Regions from separate parts of the Homo sapiens genome. Here region 2 is linked to region 1. The links are contacts of gene promoters, found by promoter capture Hi-C in human tissues and cell types (Jung and others, 2019). All regions are on one chromosome and are shown on one strand. The core of a region is centred on a gene start or on the middle of the fragment in contact, and the rest is flanking DNA. Distances in the headings are between cores, read along the strand shown.

Region 1 (3,974 bases), core at 1,158-3,657:
TCTAGTTGCCGTTAAACTGGAAAGGAGAGGACAGATATATACAGAAAATCCCCATTTCTACAAATGTGTGAGGCTTAGAATGCACCAGTTCTCCAATACAAGCTAATCCCATTCGTTTAAGGAGCCCCTGGCACAAAGGCACCCACTTGCTAAATATATGCTATATCGCAGGTTTGCAGAAACCACCCTGCCCAGGTAGACCCAAAAGAACCACAGATTTCTTCCCAAACCATATTCCAGGATTTCTTTTCTTTCTCCTGCATTCTAAAGAGCAAACAAAGAAAAGGTGCTCGCTCCTCACACTTCTCTAAATGTTTTAACAAAAGGCTGCTGAATAAACACATTACTCATTTAAAAATTGAAAAGAAGTTCTATTCCTGATATGAAAGCAACCAGATTTGCATTTTAATAGTTGTGGGCGAGCGCCACCTGGCGGGAGCATCCGGAACGGGCGGCGTTCAGCACTGGACAGCTTCCCGAGCCGGTACGGGTTTTACCGCTTGCTACCCAAGAACGATTCGAGACCCGTGATGGAATATTTTTGATCCTGTTTCTGCCGCGGGAACGTGAGTGGTATTAATGTGTGGTTGGCCGGTCATGCCTTAGAGGATATAAAATCTGAGTCACGAATCATGCCTGGATCCCCAGGACTGCCCCGGGCATCCTCCCTAGTACCCCTCCCTCCCCTAGCACACCTAACACACCCCCCAAAATGAGGAAAACAAGAATTGTGCACCATCTTTAGAATGGTGCTGTAGCTGTCCCTCTTCTCTCACTTGCTAATCCAACCTTTCAGCTTCACACACCTCAAAAGGAGTGTCTTCGTCACCCAACTTCCCAGCCAGGGAAACAGGCTGTCCCTTCACAGAAGTCGCCTATTCCGCTTCCATTTTAGTACCAAGCAAGGAAGGCTCTAAAGCATTTCCAACGGAATGTCCTTCCAGCGGCCCTTAACCTCAGACGCAGCTTGTGCAAAGACGCTGTACCTCCCCACAGGTTCGTTCTTTTGCTCTTTCTTTCTTCCTTTCCTTCTTTCGGTGAAATAATAAATGGGCACAGCTGTTGCTTAGCGATCCGAAACCAGCCTGTTCCTGCGTCCCACGGGCTGATCTCAGCCTGTCCCCGCAATCCCAGCCACCTCAGGCCGGCGTGGTTACACCAAAAGCAATCGGTGCTAAGAAACTTTAAGGTGATTTTGAACTTGGAAGTACACCTGCAGCACTCCCTTCTCTTCCCTCCGCCGCTACTCTTGGGGGGGGGGGGGCTCGGGGGTGGAAGCTGCCTGCGGTGGGGCTTGGTGATGTGTAAGACCCTGGACTGTGGTGCCCTCCAGCACCCGCCAACGTGCCTTTAGGAGCACGGCAGGCACCACCCCCCCGCCCCCGCTCCCCCTACTCTGGGGAACTACCTCTGCTCACCGCCTTCCCGTGGCCAAACCCAAATATGAGTTCCCCGAACTTTTCAGGAGCGGACGCGCTCACGGGTCAAATCCACTCCCCTCCAAGGGCCTTAACACGGGCGCCCAGCTACCTCGGAGAAAAGCCAGCGGGTAGGGCGGAGGTATTGCTCTCGGTCATCAACGCAAACATCCCCTCGGGTGCCTACAGCGGCCTGCTTAGGGGAGCAGCGTGTTCAGAGCAAATGGAGAGCTTCCTGTATCTCCGAGGAAAAAAGAAAAGCCGCCGCCCCGGCAGCCTCGGCCTGCTGGGGACCTGTCCTCCCCACTAAAAGCGCGCGCTGCCCGAGGAGCTGCCCGGGAGAGAACGCTCCACCCCGGGCGTCGGTGCCGCTCCTCGTCTCGCCGCCCCAAACACTCAAGTGGCAGATTCCGACAAGTGGGAGGCAGCAAGTGGAAATATTCGCAACAACCGCGGAAAGTTACTCCAGCCCGGGGGGCCGGCAGGAAACTGAAGCGGGGAACTTCGCCAAACGCGGGCTGCCGAGGGACGCGAGGGGCCGGGCTCGCTGGCCGGGGCGCGCGGGGACACTGCTTCCCGCGCCTGCAAGCTGAGACCCGGGTTCCGGCCATGGGGACCCGCGCCCCCGCGAGCCCACACAACTTTCTCCTCCGAGGGCCCCGCGGCTGGGGGCCCGCGCGCATCCAGGAGGGAGCGGGGAGCCCAGGGGAGCCGGGCGGGCGCACTCACCTGCGGCGCTCTGAGCCCGGGCGCCGGGCAGTGGCGGCAGCTGCAGCCTCAGGAGCAGGCTGAGGGCGAGCGCGGCGAGGCTCGCCATCCGGGCGGCGGCGGGCAGCTCAGCCCCTTCCCGCGGGGGCCGGGGCCGGGACTGGGGCGGGCGCGGGGTGGCCCCGCATCGCCGGCGCGGCCGCTGGCTGTGCGCGCGGCTGGCTCCGCTCGGGCTCCCGGAGCCGGCGCTCCTGCGTTCCAAGCCGAGGCGCGGCGCGAACTGAGGCGGGAGGCTGGGCGGGGGCGGGACGCGGGGGGCGGGGGGCGGTGTCCCCCGAGTCCTAACGCCGCCGCCGTTGCCGCCGCCGCCGCCGCCGCCGCCCGCCCGGGCGCTCCGCCTCGGCCGTGCACACACCCTCACGCGCACGCCCGCGCCTGGCACACGCCCGCGGCTGGCACACGCGGGCTCCCCCGCGCACCCTCTCCGGGGCCGACCAGCTCGGGCCGCTGGCACAGTCACGCGCGTCCACACATCACCCCCGCACCCACACGCCGGGCAGGGTCCTCGCCTCTTCGCCCCGCGCCGCGCCGCGCAGCCAAGCATCGTCTGCCCTGTGGGGGCGCAGGTACGGGGGCGGTGCGGGGAGGAGGAAGCTGCAGCAGCCGTTTGAACTCGGGGTGGGGAACAGGTGAATGGGGGTTCGGTGGCGAGAAGAGGGAGGGAGGGAGCAGCCCTCGCAACTCAAGATAAGGGGCCAGGTGAATTGCGAAAGCGGGTGGGGGCGTCTGCCCAAAGCTGGGGCAGGCGGCTGCTGGCCAGGGTCTCGGGCACACCCTGAGATGAGAATTTCATCTAAGAGCGCGCGCGCGCACACACACACAACCCACTCACACTCTTCTGGGCGCATCGCTGACCGCGCCACAATCGTCGTCCCCCTCAATTAGCCGCCCACCCCACCTTCTTCTTCACCCACATCTCTCTCTTGTCCCCACCACCACGCGGAAGGGGGCGCAGAAGGGGCATGAGGCATCCCCCCACCCCCTACAATTTTTCCCTGGCAGCCTTCCCTTTCCTTTTCTAGGGAGACAGAACCTTGTAGCTTTTTCCCTTTTCTTCTCGGTCTTAACAAAGACCTGGTTGGGGCTGAAAGCCTAAAACCATAGATCAGGGTTGGAGCTGTCCCTGGCAGCCCACGGCCCACAGCCTGGCTCTCTGCTGTCCTGGGAGGCAGCTGGTACCTGAGTCTTGGCTGGGGGTCTGAGATGTAAAAGCCAGGGGCAGGGATACCCAGAAATGCTTAAGGGATTCACACTTTGTGAACACTTTGCTACCTGGCCAAAGCCCTCCTTCTTCTGTGTCAGCACAGCCCCCCACCCCCATCCTTGTTGGGGTACCAGGGACTGGACTGGGGAGACTGTAAGTGAATTGTGAAAATCAAGCATGGCAGGGTTTCCAAAAGTGGGGAGCCCCAGGCTCTGGACCCAAGTTGGCATGGCAGAGAACACAGGGCGTCACTCTGTCAGTCCCCAGTTCCCAGTCCCCACTAGGTAAAGTGGCCCAGTTCCCTGGCATGGAAGCCCAATTTACAATCCCAGGCAAATTCTTCCACCCCTCTCCGGACCCCGACTCCCACCACCACCACCATGACCGTGACCACTTTCAAAAGCTGACGTGCTTGGACTAGCCTGTTGGACCAGCCAGTGCCTCCCACACTTGCCTGGTCAAAGAACTACCAGGAAGATTTCTCCAAGTCCTGCTTCCCAGACCCCTGCTGGGGAGAGTGGAATTTGGCAGGCCTGTCGGGGGTGGCCTGGGAGTTGAACCTTTTACAAGCTGCTTTGGAGATT
Region 2 (4,139 bases), core at 1,581-4,080, 410 kb before region 1:
AGACACTATTATGATTTCCCTGTTAGGCAGAAATCAAGGCTCAGCAAGTTTAATGTGCTGAAAGCTACACAGCGCTAGTGAAAGACAGAAACAAAATTCAATCCAGGTCCACTTTAGCCCCAAACTCAGCATGTAACAAGCAGCTATGCTCCCTTGCCTCCTGGGCACTGGGAATGAGGATGGTGTCTCCAGATAGACTCCAGGGTCTGCAGAAGGGGCTCCCAGTCAGGGCTGTGCTGATGGTTCAGGTTTCTGTCCATGCTCCCAAATATTTTATTAAAAGTGACCCCTTTCCATGCTATTTTTCCTTGATTTGAACTATTTTGTCTACCAATCTGTGTCAGCACCTATAAAGCTCAGCAAAAGCCAAGAATCTTGGAACAATTAGGCAGACTTGTTGGGAGAGCACTGGGCAGCGTGGAATTGGTGCTTGAGAAGTGGCCTGGCACAGTGAAGAGTTCATTGATCGCTTATGATGAGTCTGACACTGTTTGTAGGACTTTACACGTCATATCTCACTGAAACCCCCAAAAAATCCAGGAAGTGGGCAGTATCCCCATTTCCCCAATGTACTTTTACTCAGGTTTTTAAACTAATGACAGCAGCTCAGAGACCCCTCAGGCTACCTTTGAGCCACCATGGCTGGTGTGGTGTCAAGGACCCAAGGCCCGGGGAAAACCACCTCTATGGGCTTTTCAGAGTTGAAAATTCCTGCATCTAGTCAACTTGACAAATGCCATGCTGCTCTGATTGTCTGAAATTGTTTCCTTTTGGCTCTCCTGTATAATTTTATGAAGTTATTTTTGGAACTATCAGTTCAAATCAATTCTTAAAATGGGAATAGAGTGAACCTTGGAAGCCTGTTCATGCCACAGGCTTAAAGGGGGAGTGAACACATCCACCCCAGGTGGGGAGGGAGTGCAGAGTCTTAGCTCCAATGCTGGGAAACTCTGTGTTTAGTTTTACAAAGAAATGCTCTTCCCTTACCCTTCGAGAAAATGGTTTAACCTCTGGGATATGCACAATTAGCAATGAATCTTTTCTGGATCAATGTCCCCAGCATGCCTCTGACTCCTCTCCACTTCTTCCTTCTCAGCAACAGACCTTTTGCCTTGATTCTTTCATCTTCAATTCCTCTTCTTCCCTTCCTTCTAGGTTCAGTGGTAGAGAGTTTAGATGTTTAATGGCTCCTAGTGTGAATATTCTGGGGAAATACTGGCAATTTACAGCAGAGATAATGAACGCATGCACCTACAAGAGCCAGTTATGTAAATTAATAAAGTCGTTCAGCTGTAAAACAAAACAAAAATACCACCTCCTTGCCCCATCTTTTACTTTCCCACTTTTGATAGAGACTTGAGAAAAATAAAGATTTCTTTATATAAGAAAAGCAATGTTGTAAGCACAATAACTGGTATCCACCAGTAGCCTCAGCACTGAGGAGACAATAAGGAGTGGTGAGGACTGGAGGGAACTGGAGAGAGACTCTGAAAGGGGACACTGAAAGGGGGCAGCTCCTACTTAAATTCAGCAGAGGAAGGCCAGGCATGCATGCTTTGTATAGGGGTGTCAAACGTCTGATTTCTCCAGGCCAGTAAGAAATCCAGACTTTATATGAAATCTCTCACTCTAAACTCAACATGTTATTAAAACACAGTACAGGCTTAACAAAACATGTGTACATGCAGGCTCTATCAATCTGCGGTCCCTGATATGTAGCTCTTATGAAAGTCCTCTGCAACAATTTCCACTAGCCAGTCTCACCCGATCCAGCCCCATACATTCAGGGATGCCCCCACCACTCCATGCGGTACGCGGTGGGCATCACATGAAGGCCAACCCCGAGTACAGTTCCCAGCACAGGAGCTGATCTAGGCTACCCTCTTCTTGCTCAAGACCCTTGTCTCTGCTCCTTGGGGCTCTGGGTCATCCTTGGCTCATGACAGGCAGTGCTCTCTGGTGATTGTGCTTATGTGGGGGGCCTGTATGGTCCTCTTCCCTGCGTTCCTGGCCTCTCTGACCCTCCTTTTTCCATGCCCCCAAACGGCCTGCTCATCAGCCGCAAGCTCTCTCAACTGTCACCTTCCCCCAGCATCTGCTGCTCTGGGAGAGAACTTATATTCCACGAGCTTCAAATCACTCATCTTCAGCCAAACATGGTTGACCTTGGTACCCAGGTCAGCCATCGGCTCGTGGTTCTAAGCATTTCCTACTCACTCCACACTGAGACCCAATTCCCCCCAGATGGGATGCCACTGAATGGGCTTAACAGAAGACTGGCTGTGCATTTGGGGCAAAAATGCCTTGACGTTAGTGACATTTAGACGCCTACAGATGTCAGTGCAGCATCTGAAGACATATTATTGTGCCCTTTATCTTGCTCTTTAAACCTGACAGTGCTCAGTAGGAAGCCACACAATTGTGGAGAAAGCCCAGTACGCACATTAGAAACATGTTGCAGATGCTCTGTGGGCTCGGGGACACGGCCCCACAAGATTGTGAGGGAGAAAGAAAAGTCAACTTAGAAGCTAGAAACTTTGAAACGGAGTGGAAAAATCATACTGACATTTATCTTACACAGTTATAACTGCCTTGGCCCTGCTAATGGCTAACACTGAGAAACAGCAACAGAGGGTAACTAAGGATAGAATACTTTTAGAATAACACAAAAATGTTAAATGGGCTATAAAATATAGATGAGAGGCTTCCGTTTGTAAGAGAAAATAATTTCTTTGAGTATTATGCCTGTCTTTTGGTTACTGTTTTGGGAGCTTGGAGGCAATTATCTACAGTTCTAATTTCAGTGCCAATCAATTGAAGATACAATTGCAAATCAGTCACTCGCTCCCTGGAACTTTTGGAATACTTAGTGGAATCACTTATTGATAAACTCTGACCATATGTTAATAGAAAATATGTTTTAGAGGACAGAAAGGGATAATTAAAAAGACTTTATGTCCACAGGCTTTTTTGAATTGAACGCATATATTTCAATATAGTTCAATTTTTAACCATCTATGAGTGAAGTCATAAATTCTAAGACTGGAGGCTGGGGAAAAGCACCTTTAGTCTAAAGGAGAGTTCAGAAGCTACTATCCACTTGCATGACAGGTAATCCCTGTAAGCAGTCCCTGGGGCCCACAGGGCCCCTCACCAGGCAGCCTGCTCAGTTCTTCCCAGGCTCTCACCACCTTGCTTAAGCTACAAATCTGTGAGTGCACTATCTCCGATGCCTGACTCTTAATCCAATTTATCAAATGAGACCAGTTGGCTCTGCCTCCTAAATGGATCGCTAATCTCTGCACCTCTATCCACCTCTATGCTCTAAGTTTCTTCATTGTCCTGCTCATAATTTGTCATGGTCTGAACTGTGTCTCCCCCAGATTTATCTTTTGATATATGACCCCAACCCCCAGTATCTCAAATGTTCCTATTTTTAGCAGCAGGGCCTTTAAAGACATGATTAAATTAAAATGAGGCCTTTAGGGAAAGCCCTAATCCAATCCAATCTGACCAGTATTCTCAACAGAGGAGGACATTTGAATGCACCGGGAGACACCAAAGGATTGTAAGTACAGAGGAATGACCATGTGAAGCCTCAGCAAGAAGGCAGCCACCTGCAAGCAAAGAAAGAGCCTCAGGAGAAACTACGGTGGCCAACACCTTGACCTTGAACTGCCAGCCTCCAGAACTGTGAGAAAATAAAATACATTTAAGTTGCTTAAGCCATCCAGTCTGAGGGGTTTTGTTATAGCAGCTTTAGCAAACTAACGCACTGTCTGTGCATATAATTATATAATCATATCATATAATTATATAAGCATATCATATAATTATATATGATATGCTTATATAATTATAAATGTATATATGATATATAAATGTAAATTATATGATTATATAATTATTTATATACTATAACTCACATTTATATAATATATACTTCTATATAATGCTTGTACAATTATATAATATATAGATTATAATAATATAATCATATAATTACTTTATTTGTTTTGCTTCAGCCTCCTTCACTTCAATAGAAGTCCATGAAGACAGACAGTCAATCTGTCTTTCTCACTCCCACAAACCCAGAATGGTGCCTGACATGGAGCTCACGCTCAGTAAATACTTGTTGG

Evidence for each region. Contacts are between HindIII fragments. The study calls those that stand out against the background at their distance.
Region 2: a fragment that was not itself captured here is called in contact with the fragment with the promoter of PTPRT in region 1 in 1 of the 25 tissues and cell types used here (dorsolateral prefrontal cortex).

The regions. Positions count from the first base shown.
Region 1 is chr20:43,187,499-43,191,472 of GRCh38, forward strand. It overlaps PTPRT (protein tyrosine phosphatase receptor type T), which reads right to left and starts at 2,408. Exons shown (of 31, transcript NM_007050.6): 1 at 2,148-2,408. The coding sequence starts at 2,235. PTPRT-DT (PTPRT divergent transcript) reads left to right here and starts at 2,567. Exons shown (of 3, transcript NR_186414.1): 1 at 2,567-2,752. The HindIII fragment of the contact is 13,787 bases long and covers 1-3,974 here.
Region 2 is chr20:42,772,896-42,777,034 of GRCh38, forward strand. All of the region lies in intron 4 of PTPRT (protein tyrosine phosphatase receptor type T), which reads right to left. Among named protein-coding and RNA genes, the nearest start is that of PTPRT-AS1, 190 kb to the right of the region's middle. The HindIII fragment of the contact is 9,444 bases long and covers 1-4,139 here.